Regions from separate parts of the Homo sapiens genome. Here all the other regions are linked to region 3. The links are contacts of gene promoters, found by promoter capture Hi-C in blood cells and fetal thymus (Javierre and others, 2016). All regions are on one chromosome and are shown on one strand. Each heading gives the region's core, a stretch centred on a gene start or on the middle of the fragment in contact. The rest is flanking DNA. Distances are from core to core; before and after follow the strand shown.

Evidence for each region. Contacts are between HindIII fragments. The CHiCAGO score rates a contact against its expected background, and 5 or more counts as called.
Region 1: a fragment that was not itself captured here is called in contact with the fragment with the promoter of LINC02453 in region 3 in 1 of 17 cell types (total CD4 T cells); the score reaches 6.7 in total CD4 T cells.
Region 2: a contact is called between a fragment that was not itself captured here and the fragment with the promoter of LINC02453 in region 3, in 5 of 17 cell types (naive CD8 T cells, non-activated CD4 T cells, M0 macrophages and 2 more). The highest score is 7.8, in naive CD8 T cells.
Region 4: a contact is called between a fragment that was not itself captured here and the fragment with the promoter of LINC02453 in region 3, in 4 of 17 cell types (naive CD8 T cells, non-activated CD4 T cells, total CD4 T cells and 1 more). The highest score is 16.6, in naive CD8 T cells.
Region 5: a fragment that was not itself captured here is called in contact with the fragment with the promoter of LINC02453 in region 3 in 1 of 17 cell types (total CD4 T cells); the score reaches 9.8 in total CD4 T cells.
Region 6: a contact is called between a fragment that was not itself captured here and the fragment with the promoter of LINC02453 in region 3, in 2 of 17 cell types (naive CD8 T cells and total B cells). The highest score is 7.7, in naive CD8 T cells.
Region 7: a fragment that was not itself captured here is called in contact with the fragment with the promoter of LINC02453 in region 3 in 3 of 17 cell types (non-activated CD4 T cells, naive CD8 T cells and total CD8 T cells); the score reaches 8.2 in non-activated CD4 T cells.

The regions. Positions count from the first base shown.
Region 1 is chr12:96,886,388-96,889,934 of GRCh38, reverse strand. No RefSeq gene overlaps it. Among named protein-coding and RNA genes, the nearest start is that of NEDD1, 19 kb to the left of the region's middle. The HindIII fragment of the contact is 3,834 bases long and covers 1-3,292 here.
Region 2 is chr12:96,525,679-96,529,194 of GRCh38, reverse strand. It overlaps CFAP54 (cilia and flagella associated protein 54), which reads right to left. Exons shown (of 68, transcript NM_001306084.2): 9 at 1,751-1,949. Among named protein-coding and RNA genes, the nearest start is that of CFAP54, 38 kb to the right of the region's middle. The HindIII fragment of the contact is 2,091 bases long and covers 1,068-3,158 here.
Region 3 is chr12:98,502,569-98,505,851 of GRCh38, reverse strand. LINC02453 (long intergenic non-protein coding RNA 2453) reads left to right here and starts at 1,997. Exons shown (of 4, transcript NR_038383.1): 1 at 1,997-2,092; 2 at 3,240-3,269. It overlaps TRD-GTC1-1 (tRNA-Asp (anticodon GTC) 1-1), which reads right to left and starts at 2,349; the gene lies at 2,278-2,349. It overlaps TRW-CCA4-1 (tRNA-Trp (anticodon CCA) 4-1), which reads right to left and starts at 1,600; the gene lies at 1,529-1,600. RefSeq lists enhancers at 1,640-1,939, 1,950-2,259. The HindIII fragment of the contact is 12,452 bases long and covers 527-3,283 here.
Region 4 is chr12:96,579,532-96,583,340 of GRCh38, reverse strand. It overlaps CFAP54 (cilia and flagella associated protein 54), which reads right to left. Exons shown (of 68, transcript NM_001306084.2): 21 at 2,652-2,744; 22 at 2,236-2,421. Among named protein-coding and RNA genes, the nearest start is that of CFAP54, 92 kb to the right of the region's middle. The HindIII fragment of the contact is 1,849 bases long and covers 479-2,327 here.
Region 5 is chr12:96,596,710-96,599,976 of GRCh38, reverse strand. It overlaps CFAP54 (cilia and flagella associated protein 54), which reads right to left. Exons shown (of 68, transcript NM_001306084.2): 26 at 1,210-1,332. Among named protein-coding and RNA genes, the nearest start is that of CFAP54, 110 kb to the right of the region's middle. The HindIII fragment of the contact is 277 bases long and covers 1,421-1,697 here.
Region 6 is chr12:96,563,392-96,567,150 of GRCh38, reverse strand. It overlaps CFAP54 (cilia and flagella associated protein 54), which reads right to left. Exons shown (of 68, transcript NM_001306084.2): 18 at 2,597-2,683; 19 at 2,386-2,507. Among named protein-coding and RNA genes, the nearest start is that of CFAP54, 76 kb to the right of the region's middle. The HindIII fragment of the contact is 3,726 bases long and covers 1-3,637 here.
Region 7 is chr12:96,720,123-96,723,578 of GRCh38, reverse strand. It overlaps CFAP54 (cilia and flagella associated protein 54), which reads right to left. Exons shown (of 68, transcript NM_001306084.2): 50 at 3,014-3,174. Among named protein-coding and RNA genes, the nearest start is that of NEDD1, 190 kb to the left of the region's middle. RefSeq lists enhancers at 3,134-3,243, 3,264-3,443. The HindIII fragment of the contact is 3,587 bases long and covers 94-3,456 here.

The DNA.
Region 1 (3,547 bases), core at 126-2,625, 1.6 Mb after region 3:
GAATATTTTTTCTTTCTAATTTTCACGAGTCTAGACACATCTTTTGTGAAGAAAAAAAATGCTTTCTGGCTGTTAATTTGACAGCTGGAAATTTTTATTCTGGTTCACCTGGACGTTAATCACTGTTTAGCTTGTGAGGAGGGAGAGAATTGTCTCAGAGAAACTATTTTTGAAGGCTGACTAACAATGGTCTGAGTGACTCACGATGCAGGAAGGTATGCGTTAAGCAGATTGTTGAAAGAGAAAAAAAAAGTTGTTTGATATATTTCCTCCCCTCTGCCAAAGTGTAGACAAGAAAAGGGATTCTTGAGTGCTAGTAAAATTCTGTTTTTTTATCTGAGTGCTGGTTATTAAGTGATTTCAATTCTAATAAATTCATTGAGCCATGCACTCAGGATTTGTGCAATTCTCTGCACATGTTCTACTTCAGTACTTTTTAAAAACTATAGCACTCCCTCTTCACCTGGAGGATGAATAGACCTATGTGTGTATATACACACATGCACACATACATGCTTCCCCTTCATGCAAAGGTTTTATATTTCTAAAAGCACCTTTCTGTTTTAATATATATTTTTTAGTTTTAATAGAACAAGGTCTCGCTATGTTGCCCAGGCTTGTCTCAAACTCCTGGACTCAAGCAATCCTCCTGCCTCAGCTTCCCAAAGTGCTGGGATTAGTCATGAGCCACCGTGCCTAGACTTATCTTCTATTAGACTATAAATTCTCTCTTTTTCATTAGACTCTAGGGCAAATGTCTTATTTAGTCTGTTCTGTCTATTGGAACTAGCACATAGAAAATACTTCATAAATACACTCTGAATGAGTGAGCAAAAGAACATATAAATCAAGGGTTCCCAACCCCCAGGCTGTGGACCGGTATTGGTCCACGGCCTGTTAGGAACCAGGCTGCACAGTAGGAGGTGAGTGGAAGAGGAGCAAGCATTTCCACCTGAGCTCCATTTCCTGTCAGATCCATGGCATTAGATTCTCAGAGAAGCGTGAACCCAATTGTGAACTGTGCATGCGAGGAATCCAGGTTGCACACTCCTTATGAGGATCTAATGCCTGATGATCTGAGGTGGAGCAGTTTCATTCTGAGACCATCCCCACCCTGGTCCATGGAAAAATAGTCTTCCATGAAACTGGTCCCTGGTGCCAAAAACGCTGGGGCCCGCTGATATAAATGACAAAACTAAAGAAATTAGAAACAGATTTTAGTGACTCAGAATAGAAATATAGTAAATTAGTATTCTCTACATTGTAAACAACAATTATGATCATGTCTATCTTAGTTGTTAGCCAGGTTCAATAGGCAGTTTGAATTTCATAATCCTGGTTAAATATTTTTATTTTATTACTTATTTTTATTTTTATTTTATTATTATTTTTTGAGACAGAGTCTTGCTCTGTCACCCAGGCTGGAGTGCAGCATTGCAATCTCGGCTCACTGCAACCTCTGCCTCCGGGTTCAAGCAATTCTCCTGCCTCAGCCTCCAGTGTAGCCGGCTGATTTTTGTATTTTTAGTAGAGACAGGGTTTCACCATGTTGGACAGGCTGGTCTCGAACTCCTGACCTTGTGATCTGCCTGCCTCAGCCTCCCAAAGTTCTGGGATTACAGGCTTGAGCCACTGCACCCAGCCAGTAATGCTGGTTAAGTGTTAAATATAATGTTTGACCAACCAAACCAGCCTATTCTTCAATGTTACCAAATAAATATCAAGAAGAGTAAGGTCTCTATGACTTAGTGATAGACTTTAAGGAGTGTTGGAACCACACTACTGTAGGGTTAGAAGGGCTTAGTGCTGGAGTGGAGGACACAGCACAGCGTCCCCCTCCATGTAGAATCTGCACATATGCCATGAGAGAGGGACCTGACATGACATGTGTCCAGTTTAGTTAGCCTGTAAGGTTTCTTCAGTCATTGTCTTAAAATAATTGGTGCTTGTACTATTAAGGAACCAATAGAACAAGTAGAATGCTTTAAAATATTTCTAGTTAATGACCTTTACTATTGTTTTCTATTCTATTAGGTTTCAGAAAGCCCCTCTGGAATAATGTGTATTATACCATGATTTCAAAAGTGGGGTGGGGTGATAATACATTAGTTATTCATTTATGTATAACAAGTTACTCCAAACTGTAATGGCTCAAAACAACCATAAACATTTATCTCTCATAGTTTCTGTGAGTTTGAAACTTAGGAGCAATTTTGCTGAGCAAGTGAATGTTCCAAAAAGGTTAAGTCACTTGCTCAAAGTTATACTGCTAATAAGTAGTCAGGCTAGGATTTGGAACCAGTTTCTAATGACCAGCAGTGACACTGGTGGCCAGGATATCAATTAGGAAGCTATAGCAATAGCTCAAGTAAAAAATAACTTAGGGAAGTTCCAACTTACAGTACAGGTAGCAGAAGCGGAAATATTTTGGCAGTTGGTTGTGGGGCCACCCTGAGAACCAGATAACAGAGTGTCTGGCCCGAGGCACAGTGCTTTAGAAGGCTGTGTTCTGGCCACTGCTCTCCTCCCCACAGAACCAGGTCCATAGGTCTAAGGGGACTGGCCTGCCTGGAGCCCACACTCTGCCTTTTTTAAACTCAGGTACCTAAATTCCTGGAATTCCCTGCCCAGACTGCCACAGGATTCTTAGATTTTCCCTGCAGAGGCCAGACTTGCTATTTGTATACACAGCTCTGAGGCCTGAGGAGTAGCCAAGGGTGGCTGTTTGCCAAGGGTTTGGGCAGAGTTTGACATTGGGAGAATGGTGGGAGGTCCACATGCATGTGTAGGCCTCACAGTGCTGGAAGGAGCCAGTGGTAAAAAGAGAAAGAAAACAGGCCGCAACTGGGGGCCGTCTCTCCTCATGTAGCCTAGTCCTCTGCAGAACACCAAGGAATGTGAGAATCTGACATTATAATCTGGCCTCCCAGGTCATTATGAAGTGCATTTGTCCAGTGAGGAGGACCGAATACATTTTAGTTAAAAATAATTAGAGCTTCCTTTGTAACTTTTAAGCATTTGAATATACACTTTATGTGCCTCTTGTTTGCACCCTGGTTGATCCAATGGGATCATACTGGAGATGTATTTTCTGGCTATATTGTTGGCTAGTTAATTCCCTCATTTGCACACTATGAACTCCTAGAAACACTGGAGAAATATAACAAATATTCCTTTAACTTATAGCTGAGCTTGTAAGAAAGAAAAAGAAATCCCCAATGAAAGAAAGGAAGAAATAAAATCCAAGGTGGTGACCTTATGAGCTAGTACTGCAGCTTCACTGGATGAAGCTTTTGGTTTTGTTAACCTAAGGGCCTAGGTTTTAGTGCCTTGAGCCCTGGTACAACAGAGGCTGCAAGTTAGAATTGAGGTCTTTGCATAAAGCTGAGATCCTCAAGAGGCTGTAAGATGGGCAGAATAATGACTCCCCAAAGACATCCAAATCTCAATCCCTAGAACCTGTGAATATGGTATCACACATGGCAAAAAGGAATTAAGATTACAGATGGAATGAAGGTTGCTAATCAGTTGACTAGATAACAATGAG
Region 2 (3,516 bases), core at 864-3,363, 2.0 Mb after region 3:
TATTTACCAAAGCTGGTCATGTGCTAGGCCATAAAGCCTATCTTAACAAATGTTCACAGTTCCAAATAATACATAATGTGCTCTCTGACCATAGTATAATTAACATAGAAATCAGTAACCAAAAGATAATTAGAAAATCTCCCATATTTTGGTTCAGAACCCATATATCAAAGAATAAATCACACTGCGTATTAGAAAATATTCTTACTCCAATAGTAATAAAGATATGATATATCAAAACTTCAGATACATAGCTAAAGCTGAATTTAGAACAAATGTCTTAATATGCATTTAATGTAAATAATAACAAATCCTAAAAATCAATGATCTAAGCTTCCAAGTCAATAAGTTTTTTAAATCAGTAAAGCAAACCCAAGAAAGTATAATAAAGGAAGTAATGAAGAGCAAAAATCAATAATATGGAAAATGGACATACAATAGGGAAGATCAACAAGGTCAAATATTGTTTCTTTGCAAAGACTAATGAAACTGGTGGACCCCTGGTGAAATTGATGAAATAAGAGAGAAAGCAAACTGACCAATACTGAAAAGAAAATCTGAAAAATTTTATATCTATGGAGGAAATTGAATTCATCATTTAAAATATTGCCATACAAAAAATTCCAGGTACAGATGGCTGCACCAGAAAATTCAACTAAACATGTAGGAAGAAATAACACCAATATGACACAAACATTTACAGATAATGGAGAAAGAGGGCATACTTCTCAACTCATTTTATGAGGCTAATATGACCTTGTGAGCGAAACCTAAAAATAACATTACAAGAAAGAAAAGTCTCTCCCTTCAACAGAGAAGCAGAAATAAGCAATCCATAAAATCAACCACATTAATAGAAATAAATGAGAAAGCCATTTGATCGACTCAGTAAATCTCAATAAATTCAGAGAAAGCTTTTGCTAAAATTAAACTATTCAAGATTAAAAACAACAACAAAAAAAAACACTTAGCAAACCAGGAATACAAGAAACATCTGTGATCTGCAAAAGGGTATCTATAAAAATTATTCTGTAGATATCTCAAATAATGGCAAAATGTTGAAAGCTTTCCAACTGAGGAAAAAAATGAGACAAAGGAGTCTGCTATCACCACTTCTTCCCATGTGTTATTGGAGATCCTAGCCAGTGCAACCATCAAGAAATGCAAGAAAAGAGAAATTAAAAGATTAAGGATTGGACAGAAATAAGTCATTCATAGATGACTGTATATACAAAACAAGTCCCCCCAAAAATCTACTAATACATTATTTGAAATATCAATTGACCTTAGCAAGGTTTCTGAATTCAAGATCAATATAAATTATATCAGCTTGGCACAGTGGCTCACACCTGTAATTCCAGCACTTTAGGAGGCTGAGATGGGTGGACTGCTTGTCCCAGGAGGTCGAGACCAGACTGGGAAACACGGTGAGACCCCGTCTCTACAAAAAATACAAAAATTAGCCAGGTGTGGTGGCATGCACCTGTAGTCCCAGCTACTTGGGAGGCTAAGAAGGGAGGATCACTTGAGCCCAGGAAGTTGATGCTGCAATGTGAGCCATGATCACGCCACTGCACTCCAGTCTGGGTGACAAAGAGAGACCTTATCTCAAAAACAAACAAACAACCAAACAAAAAAAAAAAAACAATATAAATGTTATCAGTTTCCTATGTATGGACTACCATGTTAAAATTTTTGTTACTCATGTGTATCATTCTATCATAAAACAATATCTTAACATCTTATTTACTTATCAAAAGTTCTTTTCCTGCCATAAACAATTCTGAGACAACATCATGAATCTCCACTTCATCTGTAACAATGGGTCCAGTTTGCAGTATTCGCCTATTTGAATCAGAAAGAGCTTCCAAGACAGCCAGAAACTGGGATGCAGTGCTATCAAACATCTCATCCAGTAGCCGCTCTGTGACAGTTCGTGGCCATGATAACTGAAATTGAGAAAAAAAAAAGTTCAGTCCATTTGTTAAAGCTATTATATTGTGGGCGCAGTGGCTCATGCCTATAATCCCAACACTTTGGGAGGCCAAGGCAGGAGGATTGCTTGACCCAAGGAGTTCAAGACCACCTGGGCAACACAGTGAGACCCCCATTTCAACAAAAAAATTTCAGAATTGGCCAGGCATGTTGGAATGTGCTTGTAGTCCCAGCTACTTGGGAGGCTGAGGTGGGAGGATCACCTGAGCCCAGGGAGGTAGAGGCTGCAGCAAGCTAAGGTCATGCCACTGCACTCCAGCCTGGGTGACAGAGTGAGACCCTGTCTCAGGCAAAAAAAAAAAAAAAAAAAAAAACCTGTTATAAGGCAAAGAAAAGTAAGGCATGCTTACAATGCTAAAACAGAGAGCAGTTGGTCTAACAATTAGATACCTGCTTTTATGGTTTTTTGAGATGTCACTCCAGATTTCATTAGAGATATCATGCTGCCATTACATCAAAGACTTTGTTGTTTCTTCATATGCTTGTGTTTCCAAGGCAGCATTAAAAGGTTGTTTATTATGGTTTGCTTATTAAGCAAGCATATATCTCCATATGCTTTATAGTATCTTCATTATAGCCTTCGGAACTGATATTCAAACTTTGGTTACCTAAGAATCACTCAGGGGTGCTTTGTAGATTCAAGACCAAATTTCCAGAGATTTTGTGTGTCTGGACACTTTTAATAAGTGTTTAGGACACTTTTAATAAGCACCACAGGATATTCTCATGCAGAAGGTCTTCAAGCCAAAATTTGAAACAGTATTTAGTAGTATAAATAACAAGGTTTGTGGTAATTAACTCTAAGAAAGAATTGATCAGCTTTATGCTAACAGGCTAGTGACTGTTTAGAACCTGCTGTGGGTTCCCAGTCATTCTGCTTTGTACTGGCCCAAAATGACTGCACTTCCTGCACATGCTTCCTGCCACACTTCATTCTTCTCTCCATCAAATGACCTGTTCTCTGCATTTAGTTTGCCAGTAAATAAGAACCGTAGTTTTAGTAGGCTTTTCTAGAATCCTTATCCAGCTGGAAGATTTCCTCATAATTCCCTTGCTTTTATTTCTCTTCTTAGGGCAAAGTCAGAAAGACAGAAAAACAAAAGCAGGGATAAAGTTGCCTTGAACTACTTTCCCGCAAGCACTAGCTTCCCTACTCATAAGCTTGTGTACCTTTTCAATCCATAGATCAACTGACATGTTAAAAATTTCAACAAGGGGCTGGGTGCGGCGGCTCACGCCTGTAATCCCAGCACTTTGGGAGGCCGGGTGGATCACAAGGTCAGGAGTTCGAGACCAGCCTGGCCAATATGGTGAAACCTCATCTCTACTAAAAATACACAAATTAGCCAGGCATGGTGGCGCGCGCCTGTAGTCCCAGTTACTTGGGAGGCTGAGGCAGAATAATCGCTTGAACCCAGGAGGCAGAGGTTGCAGTGAGCCAAGATCATGCCATTGCACTACAGCCTAGGTGACAGAGTGAGACTCCATCTCAAAAAAACTTCAACAAAACTTGAACTTCAT
Region 3 (3,283 bases), core at 748-3,247:
GAGTTACTGTCCACTGTTTTAGCACCCCCATACCACTCTGTTCATGTTACTTTCATGGTTCTTACCAAGTAACATGAACTTACCCCAACACATTATGGCGTTTGGTGGCTTAACATATCTGTCTCCTGATGCTCAAAAAAACCCATTTTTACTCAGTGTATCCTCATCCTTAGTACTTAGCACAGTATCAGGCTCATCAGAGTTGACAGTCCATAAATACCCGTTGAAATGGATGATCTAATTTTAATCCAAACAGGAGAGGGAAGAACAAACCACACCATGTGCAAATATAATTTCCAGGTATACTGCTACATTAGGTTGAATCAAAAGAAATTAGTGTTTGGTATTTTCAAAATACTAAGCAGAAAACCTCAGGAATTTTACAAAACATATCATCAAAATCTAAAACTATTAATTTCTCATAGTCTTGCTATTCATTTTCTGTTCAACAAATATTTGACACTTACGTGTAGGGCACTATTTAGTACTAAGAGTCCTGGAGCTTGCAAATGTGAACGAGCAAGCTTTGCTTCCTGCTATTAAAGAGATTAATAGTCAAAAGTGGTGACTAGTCATCACTCGCATAATCGGTGAAAACATAAAAGGCGCCCAGTCCAACAGCTTTTCCCACATTCCTCCCCGCCACCCACCTCCAGAAGGAGTCTTGCTTGGTCACCCAGGCTCACTGCAACCTCCGCCTCCCGGGTTCAATCAATTCTTCTGCCTCAGCCTCCGGAGTAGCTGGGATTACAGGTGCACCCCACCATGCCCAGCTAATTTTTGTATTTTCAGTAGAAATGGGGTTTCACCATGTTGGTCAGGCTGGTCTTGAACTCCTGACCTCGTGATCCACCCACTTTGGCCTTCCAAAGTGCTAGGATTACAGGTGTAAGCCACTGAGCCTGGCAGTCACACATTCTTTCAACTGTTTGTTTCCACCTTTATTATAAAGTATTTATAAAGAGGGATCCAGAGTCCCTCACCTGGTTCAGAATCTTGGGTGACCCTTGGCAGGTCACTAACCCTGTGAGCCACAGCCACATTTGTAAAAGTGGGATAATAGTCACACATTGTGAGGTTGTTCACAGTGTTGGCACATGGTAAGGGCTAAGACACTTGATTAGCATAATATTCAAAATTAGAAATTGTACACTATTGTACTCTCTTTCAAAAGGCAAACAGCCTAAAACTGTTTGGAAAAAACAGCTTGTACAGTATATTGTACACTTCCTGTGATAGACTAGTGGACTGATACACCCACTAATGCACAGCAGTAATAGTCCACCTCTTTACACATTATGCATGTTAAGTGACAAAAAAACTCACTTTAAAAGGCCAAATGATAAAAACATCAGCCTTGAGGCTCTTCGATATAGAGTAAATCATATCTTCCTGCAAACCAAGGATTAGTATCATAATACCTGAAAGAGGAAAACTTAATTCTAACATTCAAGAAAATTGGCGGCAGGAATACACCTCGGCTTCTAGTAGTCGGTAGTTTAAAATACAGGAGGAAAAAAAAAAAGTTTGACCCCGACGTGATTCGAACACGCAGCCTTCTGATCTGGAGTCAGACGCGCTACCGTTGCGCCACGAGGTCCTGCTGGGCTGTGGCTCGCGCAGTTTCTTAGGACACCAGTAAATGGCGTTTCTTCCAGGGGTACCAGTCTTTCTCTTCCATTTACTCTCTGCCCCTCCACCCAGTATCTGTCGGACCAGGAGACCGATTCCTTCAGCGTCCAAACTTTCCTGACTGCTAGTCCTCTAACCAAGGCTGGGACGTAACCAGCGGAAGCGGGAGAACGGGGCTTCCCGTTTAGTCGGGTCTCCAGGATCAAAGGAAATTGGCCCTTCCTTTTCTTTACCAAATGATTTCCGTTCTTACCCGCCCTGCCCCCGCCCCGTTAGTCGCGAGACTCCGCCCTCTCTCCCCTCCCCCAACAGGTTCCGCGCGCTGAGTTCGCGACCTCGAGTTGTAATCTGGCGGGGCGCCACTAAGCCGGCGCAGGCCTTCGCAAGATGGCGGCTGGAGGCAAGGGCAGAGGCCTTCAGAGCGTTTTCTTTTTCCCTTTCCTCCCTTCCTGCAAACAATGTAAGGCATTTTCTCTCAGGGGAGGCTTTCACTTCATGGTGGGCATTAAGGTTAAAAGTCACCATTTTGAAGACAGGGTTGTGCACTTAAGGGAGCTGGTTTAGCATATTATGTTTAACAGCAGTGTCCTGTCATTGAATGATACAGAAAATAATAACTGTCGCCAAAAAAGTGCAGCTACACACCTCCCCGTCGGGGAATTGAACCCCGGTCTCCCGCGTGACAGGCGGGGATACTAACCACTATACTAACGAGGAGTCGTTAGGCTGTGTATTTTCTCAGACAGCCCTTCAAGGAGCAGTAAGATCCTTCCAGCGCTCCGTAACCTTCCGCCTGCCCCCGGGAAGTACGAAAGTCCGGTCTCTTGGAGCCGCTGCTTAGGCTTATTGTCCTCTCTGGGCGCTTTGTATTCTTGATGTTGGTGGGAAGAATAAAAGGTGTGGAATATGTGAAGGAAACGCGCTTCCCATGTTAGTGCTAGAGAAGTGTGTGAAAATAGTTTTTCCGAGGCTCTTGACGCGTTCTAAATGATTTAGGTTGCCGTCCTGAGTTTTTTTTTTTTAACTGACCACTGGTATGTGACTTGCGGCTGAGCCTTCCCCTTACAAATTTATACTTTCACTCTGAAGTTCAAGTTCAAGGATAGCATATGGCTGCCAGATGTCGGGGACAGTTAGGGTTGCCACGGTCTCGTGCCTCTTCAAACAATTCATAAGTCTTTTTTTTTTGAGAGGAAGTCTCGCTCTGTCCCCTAGGCTGGAGTGCAGTGTTGCGATCTGGGCTCACTACAACCTCCACCTCCAAGGCTCAAGTGATTCTCCCGCCTCAGCCTCTCGAGTGGCTGGGATTACAGGCGCGCACCACCATGCCTGGCTAATTTTTGTATTTTACTAGAGACGCGGGGTGTGTGTGTGTGTGTGGGGGGGGGGAGGGTTCACCATGTTGGCCAGACTGGTCTCGAACTCGTGACCTTTAGTGATCCACCTGCCTCGGCCTCCCAAAGTGCTGGGATTTACAGGCGTGAGCCACCGCGCCCGGCCAATTCACACACTTTTGTAACACAAAAGCGCCCAATGAAATGACCAGCTGCGGGCAAATGAAATTTTATCAAAATTTTATCAGCCGACTTCTGTTTCGCTCTCTGTAGGTGGCTACAGTTTAACTGGAAGTGACAAACGTAAGTATGTGAAT
Region 4 (3,809 bases), core at 154-2,653, 1.9 Mb after region 3:
AGATTTCTACTCTTCTACATTTATATGATATTATCTAGTCATTTTCTACTTAACGAGGAGGAATAAAAAGAAATAGTCTAAAAAGAAGAGAAAATAGCCACAGAAAATAGATAATTCAAAAAGTTTCCTCAAAAAAAAATTTCCAGATACACTAAACTAATAGCCTTCTACATTTAGGGAAAGCCTAGTAGAGATTCACTTGATTTTATTAATATTTACAGAATAATGCTGAGTAAAAAGTACAACCTAAAGTCCCAAAAGCCAAGTTAATCACAGGCATTTAGTGAAACGTCTCCATGCTTTACTATCAAATATTTATAATAATATGTTTTAAAGAAAAGAACTGTCCTGAAACTAGAAACTAACCACTCTCATGAAAATTAGATTGCACTTACAAAATAGAGGTACATTAACTTGCTGAAACTTAAAAGCTTAAACTTAAGTTATAAATTAAGGAGGTTTAATAAGTGAGAAAGCTTTGCTTTAGCCTCTTAACATTATGAGACAGAATGCACATAAACCATCATAAATAAACTACAGAACTGCAAATATAGTGTCAGTAAAGAAACACAGGTCATTACTTCATGACACTACTCATTATCCCAGCAGTATAGCTCTGACTTAGTTTTATTAACTTTCAATGAAAGTTCTACCAAATTAAGCCCAAGAGTCAAACCACTCCCTGGAGAAAAATTAGGCCTTGATGAAATATTCAGTTCCTCACAATAACTCCATCACTGCAAATTAGGGAATATATTAGATTCCAAAGATACCAAAACATCAGAAAACCATGAGCCAGTATGACACGCTAAACCAATACTAGACAAATCCTAGTAATTCTCTCAATTTAATTTTCTTTGAAAAATATGCTATATAAAATGCCACTAAGATCTTATCTTATATTACTAATCAACTATTAAGAGAAAATAGAATAGAAATATGACAAAATTTAGAAAAGCCATCAGCTCTACAGTCAAGAATAGGCTTAAAATTAGATACTTGAGACCTATGTCAATGAGTCACTCTTCCTAGCATCCTCTTCACTGATGACATGTTTTAAGTCAGGCAACAACTATTTCGACAAAAAACATTAATTCATGAGTATATCCCTAACTAAAAACAATACTATTTATTCAATGCCTACTGTGTGATAATATTTGACAGGCATAATTCCATTTAATACTCATAATACCTCTGGGAAGTAGCTACTACTGCTACTCTTGCTTCACAGATGAAAATTACTTGTCCACTATCACATGGCTGTGATAGTGTGAGAAGCTGGAATTTGAACTCAGGTCTCTCTGCCTCTACTGATCCAGAAGTTTTACTTTTATAAATTTACCCTAAGAAAGTAATCATGGATGTAGGTAAAGATTTATATACAAAGTTGGGCATCATAGCTTTGTTTATAATAGCAAAAGACTGGAAAGTATCTAGATGTTTAGCAATGGAGAATTACTAACAAACTATTATATATCCATAAGATTCAATGCCATGGAACCATTAAAAATTATGTTTTGGAAGAATACTTAATGGAATACAGCAATGTCAATTATATGTTAAGTGAAAATATCAGGATGTAAAATAATATGTATACTATGATTTAAATTATATATTGTACATAAATTCATATACACGTGTGTGTGCATGTATATATATATATATATTAATTAGATAGATAAATAGGCAGATAGATACACAAAAATAAAAGGATATCTCTGGATTAGGGTTTCTCAATCTTGACACCACTGACATTTTATGCTGGATAATTCTTTGCTATGCGGGCTATCCGGTACATTGTAGGATGTTTATCAGCCTCCCTGGCCTCTACTCACTAGATGCCAGTAGCACCCCTCTAGTTTGTGACAACTGAAAATTTCTCTAGACATTGACAAAATTGCCCCAGGGTAAGAACTCTGCTACTCTGGATGATAGGATAACAGATAACATTTATTTTCTTCTTTATGCATTTCAGTGTTTTCCAGCATTTCTAAAATTAATATATATGTGTTACATTTGTAATCCAGGGGAAAAAATGTTATTGTCAAAAAGCAAATTTACTAATAAGAGAAGGAATGATTCATATTTTATGAGACAAAACTGTAGTAATGGATAATATGTGTTATAGGAGCTTTAGAATATCTGCTGTGATTTTTATTTCCATCAGAAATTACTTCATAACTGCTTAATGGAAAAAAAAACACAGTGGAAAAAATTAGCAGAAATCTTTTCTACCTGTGTCAGGAACATCCGAGCAGTAATAGTAGAAAGAGGGGGATAAACCAGAATTGGTTTAGTTGTCTCCCCAATAGCACCACCGACAAGCTTTCCGTTGTTAGAATAGGCAGCAACTGCAAATACATACTTTTCATTGGTTTCTAAACCTTTCACTTCAAAAACACTTTTACCGTCAGCTGGTATCTATTAAGAAAAATATATTTCAAGTTATACATGAAAAATTAAAATAACATGACTTTTAAAATACAATTAAGTAAACCTTCTATTAAAAAAAAACCTTTTTCTTTCATTGTTGGATTTTAGTTATGATTCAGGTGGAAATTAGAGAGATTCACCAAAACAATGACTTCATTTAAAAATTTAATTATCATTAAAGGCTTCAGTAAGATTTCCTGATGTTTAATTTGACGTACCGCTTCTCCTGAATTTGGGAGATGATTATTGTTTAGCCGTACTTTTCCATAACTTCCTTCTGCTTTGCAACCCAAAATGCAGTACCAGGAGACCTGCCGACGAGAAAAATGAGCCTGTTTAAAAGGCATTCTTTTATATCAATGTAACAAAAAAAATACTTTTCTAAATAAAAATGTAATGATTCAGGTTTTAAAACATGAAATCCAAGTTTACAAATATACTTAGGTTTAATCTTTAAAGAGTAAAAGTAACCTTAGCTAGTTTACTGAGGCAATTAAGACTAAGATATTATTCATTATTAATTATTTTAACCACCATTAATTGAACAGTTCCTACTGCTAAGTACTGTTAGGAAATTTACAGATATTTTCTAATATGCACAACTCTATGAGATGGGATTACTATTGTCATTTTGCTTCACAGGAAATGGAGATGCAGAGATGTTAAATAACTTTGCCTAAGATCAGACAGATAGTGGCAGGGTTGACTCCTAAAATGACTTTGTCTTGATGTAAAAAAAAAGATTAACACTCAAGTGATTTTCATATTTTACATGATAATGTATGACAAAAAAAGCAAGTGGAAAGAGAAGCAAGATACTAAAATATATTATTTTAAATAAAATATAAAAATACATATGAAAAAGCCTAGAAGAAAACACCCCTAAATAAGAACAGCAGTAGGATTTGGATGATAAAATGGTAAGATGATAGGTAAATAATGGGCCAATTTTTTTCTCCAATTTATACATTTTCTGAAACATGATATTACTTTGATAATTTTTATATTTAGTTTAATTTTATATTTTAAATAAAAACATTAGACATAAATCAAACATAAAATATAAATCCCACAGAAACAACAAAATTTAACCTTGATTAAATAGTTAGACAATGATCCTTTCGCCGAGGTGTCAAGATAATGAAGATTCATTATTGGAATGAACTATTCTCCCTACAGAGAAAAAGGGAGCTAGGTGACACCTGACGGGGTAGTATTATGAACAAGCCATACTGCTGAGGGTTATAGGGGTCATGACTGTGTCATTACCTTCTTCCCAGAGGCAACTCCTAAACTACAAGGCAAGCTAGAAAGAAGGAAAAATACAATTGCCTCTAAAAAAAATACAATTGTCTCTAAATACAACTACGTCTTAC
Region 5 (3,267 bases), core at 310-2,809, 1.9 Mb after region 3:
CTATCATCAGAGCGAACAGGCAACCTACAGAATGGGAGAAAATTTTTGCAATCTATCCATCTGACAAAGGGCTAATATCTAGAATCTACAAAGAACTTAAACAAATTTACAAGAAAAAAACAAACAACCCCAAAAAGTGGGCAAAGGATATGAACAGACACTTCTTAAAAGAAGACATTTATGCAGCCAACAGACACATGGAAAAATGCTCATCATCACTGGTCATCAGAGAAATGCAAATCAAAACCACAATGAGATACCATCTCACACCAGTTAGAATGGCGATCATTAAAAAGTCAGGAAACAGCAGATCCTGGAGAAGGTGTGGAGAAATACAACGTTTTTACACTGTTGATGGGAGTGTAAATTAGTTCAACCATTGTGGAAGACAGTGTGGCAATTCCTCAAGGATCTAGAACTAGAAATACCATTTGACCCAGTGATCCCATTATTGGGTATATATCCAAAGGATTCGAAATCATTCTGCTATAAAGACACATGCACATGTATGTTTATTGTGGCACTATTCACGATAGCAAACACTTGGAACCAACCCAAATGTCCATCAATAATAGACTGGATAAAGAACATGTGGCACATATACACCATGGAATACTATGCAGCCATAAAAAAGGATGAGTTCATGTCCTTTGCAGGGACATGGATGAAGCTGGAAACCATCATTCTCAGCAAAATATCACAAGGACAGAAAACCAAACACCATATGGTCTCACTCATAAGTGGGAGCTGAACAATGAGAACACATTGACACAGGAAGGGGAACATCACACATCAGGGCTTATTGGGGGGTGGGGGGCTGGGGGAGGGATAGTATTAGGAGAAATACCTAATGTAAATGATGAGTTGATGGGTGCAGCAAACCAACATGGCATATGTATACCTATGTAACAAACCTGCACGTTGTGCACATGTAGCCTAGAACTTAAAGTATAATAATAAATATATAGATAGATATACTAATGCTATTTCAATAACATCAAGTTTTAGTTTGTGAAGCACCACAGTTTCATCAAAAAGTTCAACAACAGATTGCTATTCTATAATGTTTGGCCTCTACATTTGCTTTTGATCTAAAAATGCTTTTAGGGTGCCATTTTTAAAAGTGTTCTTATTGTGATTAAAAGTAGACTTTCCAAATCATCATCGCTCCTAAATATTATAATACTAGATAAAGAATGAGATAAATACCTTTGTTATGTAGAAAATACAACAAGCTATCATGTGTTGTATACTTTCAAAGCTCGCAGTATGTTTCTTCGAGCAGACAATACTTGGTAGTCCTTGCAAAACCACTATACACTTTATCAGGATCTAAAAATTAGAATCACAATGATTTTTGTTTTAAAATGTCATCCTTACTCATTTCATTAGAAAATGTTCCATTCAAATAATGCAAGCTTTAAGACATAAAATTTTGTTATCAATAATTATTGATAAATTGTTTATTAGGAATAAAGGAGAGTACACTGAGATAAAGTTGATACATTCAATTTTGAGATTAGTCCTTCACCTACAGCAACTTGAAAATCAGTGGAAAGAATAAAATAAAACACAAATGACTATAAAACAAAGCATATTTTGATAAGTATCATAAAAGGTATAGTCAGAATGTGACATGTATTTGAAAAACTATCACATCCAGGTATAGAAGGAACTTGAAAAACCAAATGGAAGCTTATATGGCATATTAAATATTACATAGTGATTCCAGGTACTTGAAATAATAGTTTCCTTTAAAATTAAAACCAAACATTCATATCTCAGGAAATCAACTAATATTGGTACTTACTTCCTATTCTCCTTGCTTCGTATTATATGATCTTAAATTTGATCAAGAGCTAGACGAATAGCTTTTCAAAGGTAGTGTGAGATTGCATCAATCATTCACCATTTAGATTAACCCAAAGGACAAATTAATATATGAATGTTGGTTCTTTGGGGGCACATTAATTGCTTCAAGCTCTCATTCTAACAATACTGTTACTATTGTTACAGTACACTCATCTCTAAGACTTTTTAAATTCCTCCCCACCCTAATCAGCCTCTCCCATGCTACCATATCATATCCCTAAATCATGTGAACACCCTAGTAGTTTTGGAGTTTTCCCGAAGCTCATATAAATATAAATACATACATGTGTATAAAAACATAATGTACCTAGGAGGGTTGTTGTTTTACAAAATGGGATTTATAAATACTTTTCTGAAGTGTGTATTTTTTCCTTCAACCATATCTTTGGTTGTGAACATTTCTCACCAGACATGGTTTTTGGACAACCATGTCTGGTGAGAAATGCTGTAAGTCTACAGGTATAGCTCTAATTCATTGTTTGTTTCTAATGGCTGCATAATATTATTTGGTGTGGATCAGCCATTATTTACTCAGCCTTTTCTAGGACTTCATGGTACACATTTTCATGGTTGTACAATCTGGGGGTACTGTTACTTCTCTTTGTCACCAGCTTTTTTGCCAACACCAAGAATGTCACAGTAAATACCCTTTTACATGCTCAGTTGCCAACTATGATTAGCAATCAAGATGCCGGCTTTGAGATGATACCCAGTGAAGATGAGATACCATCCTCCAGAACACAGTATACATTCTAAACCAATGACAGTACATAACACTGTGTCCCAGTAGGTTCCTCAGGTCCAGGAACCAAGAGGTGGAACTAGGAGTGACATTATTTCAAATGGAGGTTTTATTCTATAAGATAAATTACTAACAGAAGAATTGTTGTGTCAGATAAATGTATTTTTAATTTTATTAAAATTTTATTCTACAGGATAAATTACTAGCAGAGGGACTACCGTGTCAGGTATATTTGTTTTTAATCTTGCTTAAAATTAGATTTAATTTAATTTAAATTAAAATTACTTTACCAAAATTCAAATGCTTGTAACAATTCACATTTCCCCCATGTATGAATGAGAATGCAATTGCCCCACATCTTCACCAGCAAATCTTTTCAATCCTGCCAGTGATATTACATTGTTAATTTAATGTGAATTTCTATGAGTATTTAGAATTTGAGCATCTTTTCATATGTTTCTCACTCACTTGGATTTGCTCTCCTGTGAACTGCTTATTCATATCCTGTGCCTATTTTTCTATTAGGTTATTGTCAGTTTGTAAGACTTTTTGTTATACATGTATATATACTTGCCCTCTGTCGCATTTGGAGATATTTTTTTTCCAAATCTGTAAATGTTCTTCTATCTTTGTTATAGTCCTTTTTGTTACAC
Region 6 (3,759 bases), core at 525-3,024, 1.9 Mb after region 3:
ATGTCCTTTCTACTGTTTGCGCTCCTGTTTCTCTGGCTCTTTCAGTATTCAAATTCAAGCCATCTGTCTTTCAGCACTCAACTTCACGTGATTTCTCCTGGATGTTTCCTTAAACATTCCCCACTATTGAGTTAGGTACTCCCCTGTTAATTTTCCCTAGCCCTCTTGCAATTAAAGCATATATTTACTTGTCTATGTTTCCACAGACTGGATTTTTATATGAATAAATCCAGGGACCACAAAGGCAGAACCACAAAAAGAAGGTAAATCAATCAATATTTGTTGAATAAATAAAAGATTCCCCCCTTCTATACTCAGCATACTACCAGGCACATAGTGAACTTCCAATACATAATTGCGAAATGGATCAAAATTATTTGTTAGATGGATGAATAGATTGACAGATAACAAGTAAGTGCTACATACCAGGAATCTTGAATTTCAGTATTCTACTTTCTAACCTCAAACACCTATCCTTCTAGCTCCCTCAGACCCTCATTTTCTGGTCCTTGACCTGACCTCATAAAGATGTCCAGTCTCTTGATATTTCCATAGACACCAAGTCTTTAAATGCCTTCATGCCTTCCCTCCCTACTCAATCTGTATCCACGTTTTTAAAGCCATAAACTTTTAACTCATACCTTCATTTTTTTTAAAAAAAATCTAATCCTCCACAAATGTCTGCTGTCACAAATATTCTGCTGTCATTAAGAACACCACATCAGGATAATGTCATACCACCATACGGATCAAGATGTCTAAAAATTCTTGGTCTCCAACTTCAGCTAGAACTTAGTGATGCTGGCCAGTCCCTTTACTTGGAGTCAACTCCCTCATCCATTCCTCCCCACTCTCCACATTATCTTTACTTTCCCAGTTCAATTTTCCACCCTCATGCTCCATTGATGGCAGATATCCTTGCCTCCCACTGCATCCGACAGAGGTAAGAAGGTGTATTAGTTTGTTCTCACACTGCTAATAAAGACATACCCGAGACTGGGTAATTTATAAAGAAAAGAGATTTAAAAGAGGCTCACAGTTTTGCATGGCTGGGTAGGCCTTGGGAAAGTTACAATCATGGCAGAAGAGGAAGCAAACACATCCTCTTCACATGTCAGCAGGAGAGAGAATGAGTGCCCAGTGAAGGGGCAAGCCTTTTATTAAACTATCAGATCTTGCGAGAACTAACTCACTTTCATGAGAACAGGATGGAGGAAACCTCCCCCGTGATTCAATTATCTCCACCTCGTCCCTCCCACAACACATAGGGATTATGGGAACTACAATTTAAGATGAGATTTGGGTAGGGACACAGTCAAAGCATATCAAAAGGCATCAACTCAACTCCCTGCCTTCACACCAACAAACTTTTCTTATCTACATCTGTCTGTTCCTCCTTCCCTTCTGTATCAAAAGATGAGGTGTCTGCCCTGCAGCCCACCCATCATTGAAGATGAATCCCTTTATCTGTGCTTTCAAAATCATCCTCTATAGGCCTTGGCTCTGTGTATTAACCTTTCCCTCTTATTATCTTCAATTTCTCTTTGTTCTGGCACTTCATTTTTAGCATACTATTATGCTAAATTTTCTCATTAAACCCCTTTAGCTCCATATCCCCCTCCTAGCTTTGACCTACTTTTTTCCTTCTCTTATCAGCCAAGACATAGCATTATTCTGTACATCTTCATACATCATTCACTCAGCCAATGCCAGCATACTAAGGGTCTGACTCTACCAAAAAAAATTTTTTTTAATATTCTGGCATGGTGGCATGTCTGTAGTCCCACCCACTGGAAGGCTGAGGTGGTAGGACCATTTAAACCCAGGAGTTCAAAGCTGCAGTGATCTAGGACTGCGCCACTGCATTCCAGCCTAGTTGACAGAGTGAGACCCTGTCTCAAAAAATAAACACATAAAATCAACATATAATGAATTAGCAAGAAGGCAGAAGAATTTCCAGGCCAGAGTGAGACCCGATTAAAAATATCAACAAGGGGATTGGTCCATAAATTAGCAGTATCTATCTAAGAGAGAAGGTACCTCAGCCAATGGACTTTAAGAATTTTAATTCCATTGTAAAGAATACATTAAGCTGGTAAAGTGTCACTCCAATTCTATAATTTCCCTCATTTTGAGTCCTTCTGATTTTATTTGTCTTCTCATGTAGATTGCATGAAGTTCTGATAAAAAGAGAATCTCTCATTTCAGAATTCAGAACTGGAGGTACGAATTAGTTCCCCTGGTCAGGATGAATTATATATAGTGAATCTGAAAGTTCATAATTAAATGTTAAGGGCAACACATTATTTTTAATAAAGGAAATGAATCATTCATTTTAACAGAAATTTTATGTCAGGATTAAAAGAAGAAATGAAATACTGTTACCATCAAAAGTTCCCATGAAGATGTAGAAGTTGCATCTTTCTCGAATATTAAAAGAGCTTTCTGCATTAAGTAAATTGCTTTGGATAATGTATTCTTCTTTATTTTATTCATTATATTTAATTCTATAAAAACAAACATTTTACCAAAAAGGTGAGATTAAAAACTATCTTCCAAATTTTTTGGAAATACCAGTTATCCCAATTTTAATTACCTGTAAAACAATCAGTGCTTCCAGATTGTTTTAACTTTTCCGGACCCTTGGTAGAAATATCTTTGCTAACAGTTGGAGTCTGCAAAACTGAAGAAGAAGACGACTGTCATAACAATTAAGTATGTATCCAAGAGAGGAAATATTTTTTAAATACTAAGGAGTAACTATTCATAAAGCTACTGCTTCCTCTGTCATGTCATTTTTTTCATTAATAGATAAAAATTCATATAAATCTACTATAATGCAGTTTTATCAAATCCTCTTTTATTTGCCACAGTATACCTCAGGACAGAAGAAATTCCAAATTATAAAAATATTTGATTTTCTATCTCATCTTGAATAAAGTCATCCTGAGGATTGATAGAATCCAACCTACTTCTGTTGACTTTACCTTTTCACAGAAGTACAGATGGCAAGTCCTGATACCAATACCAATAAGCTGTCAAACTCTGTCCTCAACACCCCTTCTAGAAAAACTGTTTCATCCAAGGTCCCTTTAAGAGCTCTGGGTAACACACGAAGACCTCCACTATCTTCCAGCTGTGGCTGATGAAATCAGAGCCTGTCTCAAGATTTTGAACTAAAACATGAACTTGCCAGTTGTTGATACTGGTATACAATTGGGACTGACCATCATGGTGGTTCAGTAAAGACAGGAATGTGGATGAGGGGAAAAAAGGATACAACTATATACAACTATACTAGCCCAGGGAGATGGAAACTGTAGCACTGATTCTTGATTTTCAGGTCTGGTGCTTAAGAGACCTGGTAGTATTTTGGTCCTTGGAGATATGCGAGGGTAGCTATAGTAACCTTACAATAAACCCCTTTTACTGAGTTTTAATTATTTGTGCTAATGCACATGAGCCACCATGTGATAGTAATTGATTCGTGAAAAGATGTTAACATACACCATTGAAGAATAGAAGGCATCTGCAGTGGCAAAGGGTAAGGAAACATCTGCATGGAGATAGCAATGCAGAGCAGAAAATAGTGCATCATTCTCTCAATACCAAGGATATTATAAATGCTAATTAAGCTTTCCTGATTATAATCGTTGGAGATAAGAAGGATGAGACTGCAAAAAAATTCTGAATGCCAAATACAGATGCATCATATTTATGTCATGGACATCAACAGGCAACCATTATTGAATAAGAATG
Region 7 (3,456 bases), core at 638-3,137, 1.8 Mb after region 3:
TCTAAAGTTACTCCTGTGAAGGTCACCATTGGCCTCCATGCTAAATCCAGGGGTCAACTCTCTATCCTTACCTTACTCAATCTATCAGAAGCTTGTGGCACAGTTGGTCACTCCATTCTCCTCAACCACTTTCTTCACTTGGCTTTCAGGGTTCCATAATCTCTTGGTTTTCTTCTATCTTACTGGTCACTTCTTCTCAGTCCCCTTTCTGGTTCCTCATTTTCTCCCCAGTCTCGTAAAGTTGGAGTACAAAACTCAGGGCTTGATCCTTGGTCCTTTTCTCTCTTCCATCTATTTATACCCCCTAACGGAGCTCATCCAGTATTAAAATTCTGTCTTTACTTTTTTTAGTTGTTATACTGTACTTTTAAATTTGTATTATTCTTATCATTGTATTTTTATTGATGCTTAATAGACATATATACTTCCAGGGTACATAAAATATTTTGATACATTACATAATGTGTAATAATTAAATAGCAGTGATTGGTATATCCATCACCTTACACATTTATCTTTTCTTTATGCTGGGAAGATTTGAATAACACTGTCTATATTCTAAAGACTCTCAGAATACTTGACATCTTCAATTGTACATCTAAGGGCATCTCAAACTACATACATCCAAATTTTAATTCCTGGTGTTTCCCCTAAATAAGCTGCACCCCTACAACCTCCCCATTTCAGTTAATGACCACTTCTTTTTTGACTCCTCTCTTTTTCTCACAACTTACATCCAATATCTGTAAAACAGAATGGCTCTACCTTCAAAATTTACTCAGAATCCAAATACTTCTCATTACCTCCAGTGCTATCACACTGGTAAGAAACACCACCATATTTCTGTTATTATAATAGCCTCCTTAATTCATCTCCTTGCTTTCACACCCTTTTCCTCTTATAATCAATTCTCACACTAGCAGCAAGAGCCAACCCTTTACAATGAAAATCAGATCATGTCACTCCTCTGCTCAAAACTCCACAATGACTCCCCACTTCACTCAAAGTCAGTCTTTACCCTGGCCAAAAGGTCTTATGTAATCTCCTTGTCCACCAGTTACCTCTTTGCCGATCTCCCTTGCAACTCTGCCCCTCACTCACTCCACCCCAGCCACAAGAGGCCTGGAGGTGTCCCTCAAACATGTATCAGGCATGTCTCCATGGCCTGTAACACTTTGTCTATAGATATTTGCATGGATAATTCTCTCATTTAAGTACTTTGTTCAGATGTCACCTCATCAATGAAGCCTGCCCTGACCACCCAAAATGTGGTTCAGATGTCACGACTGATCCCAGATACACACACGTCAAGAGGGTATGAAATGGGGTACTGCTCACATAAAGAGACCTTGCAAGAAGATCAGAGCAGGTTCCCAAACAGGTGGGAAAATGTATGGAGAAAGTAAGGAAAAGAGACTGGCTTGGAGTTTTATGGTGGTTGGTGGGTGGCACTGAGGTAAGAGTTCCTGCACATGGGCCAGGACTTACATGGTTTGAACTTTCCACTAACACCAAAGGAGGGAACAGATGGGCTTTCTTATCTGCTTGCTCAGGTCAGGGGCAGAAAGAGAAGGACAGTGGTCGGGCTTGAAAGCTGTCAGCCATTGAACATCAAAATGGAGTCACACTTATTACAACCACACGATTTTAAAATGGTAACTCGTCCCCCTCCAACCTCTACTCCTTATATTCTCCATAGCACTTATCATTTTTGCCCACACTCTGTAATTTACTTGTGTTTATAGTTTATTGCCAGCATGTTTATTATCTATTAGAATATAGGGCAAGATTTTGCACAATATTGTTATATATTTTGTTTAGACTGTATATATGAGTATTGGGCCACTGATACTTGCCAGGAGCTTAGAACAGTGCCTAGCATATTGAAAGTGCACAAACTTATTTTTTAAACGAATTAATGAATGATAAGAAATGTATGCATTATTAGATGAATCACTATTGAATGTGTCAGAGGACCTCATGATAGAAGTGTTTATCACAAATGGCATGGAGAAACTCTTGAATGTGGATGTCCATATTATTAAATATGAAAAAAGCGCTGTAATATTATTTTTACTACTCTACCTGACTGCTTATATATCTGTGAGCATATGGATACAGAAATTGTATTCTATGCATCTTTATATCTTCACTGCCTAGATCAGAGCCTGGCAGTGAGAGAGTTAACAGATACTGGTTGACTAAATAAATAAATCGATGAACAAACTAAATGAAAGAGCTGACACTAACAATTGCAGCACATTTAAATAATTAGCTACCTACAACAGTTTATTAAACAGTTCAGTGCAATATGATGCAGAAACTTACTTTTTCAAAATAGGTTTGTTTTTAATATTTTAAGTCAATGTTTTAGAAAAAAAGAAAACACTCCATAGCTTTTATTCGTAAAAAGGTTTAGTCTTTTTAAAAAGTAAATTAAATGTATAAAAAAATCAAAGCATTGTTAATTTGTTCATTCTATATATGAAATTAAACAACCCAGCTGTGTGCCTTCATAAAATAATTGCTTTATTGAGAACTGTAATTTTTTTTTTTTTTGAGACAGAGTCTTGCTCTGTCATCCAGGCTGGAGTACAGAGGGGCAATCTCAGCTCACTGCAACCTCTGCCTCCCGGGCTCAAGTGATTCTCCTGCCTTAGCCTCCCGAGTAGCTGGGATTACATGTGCCGCCACAAAGCCTGGTTAATTTTCATATTTTAGTAGAGACAGGGTTTCTTCGTGTTGGCCAGCCTGGTCTCCAACTCCTGGCCTCAAGTGATCTGCCCACCTCAGCCTCCCAAAGTGCTGGGATTACAGGCATGAGCCACCACACCCAGCCAGAGCTATAATTTTAAGTGAAATCATGTATGAAAACTTCCCTGAATAATAAAAAGCAAGCATACTATGGATATAGGAATTTCTAAAACTTACATAAAATTTAAGTCTATTTAATAAACTAGGGTGAAGGAACTCTCTTCAAAGGTATCCCTCCCCTGTGCATGGAGAGACGCACCTGTATGCCGCCCGGTGCCTCTGCAGAGCAACTGCAGCCAGCTGAAGCCGGGCCTCCACCACAATCTCCAGCTCGCCAGCGGAGCACTGAGACAGGGTCTTCTGTTCCACCTCGGACAGAAGGAAGTTTAGCCTGTCCTCAGCTTCCATCAGTAACATCGACTAAGGAAAGGATACCATACATCACGTGAGTTCAGAAATAATACAAATACTGTCTCTTTCTTCTTTAGCAAATATTTTTCATGTACTGAAAAGTAACAATGAATGGAAGACCAAAAAGGAACTTGGTATCTAATTACCAGAGAAGAGAGTTCAGCAAAAAGGAAAAAGGCAACAGAAAACGAAAAGGAAAGTGAAAGCAAGCGTCAGCATGCATGACAGTGACCTTTTCTTGTGTGCACAGCTGGTGCTTACTATTCACAGTAGTTATGTTCTATAAAGTTC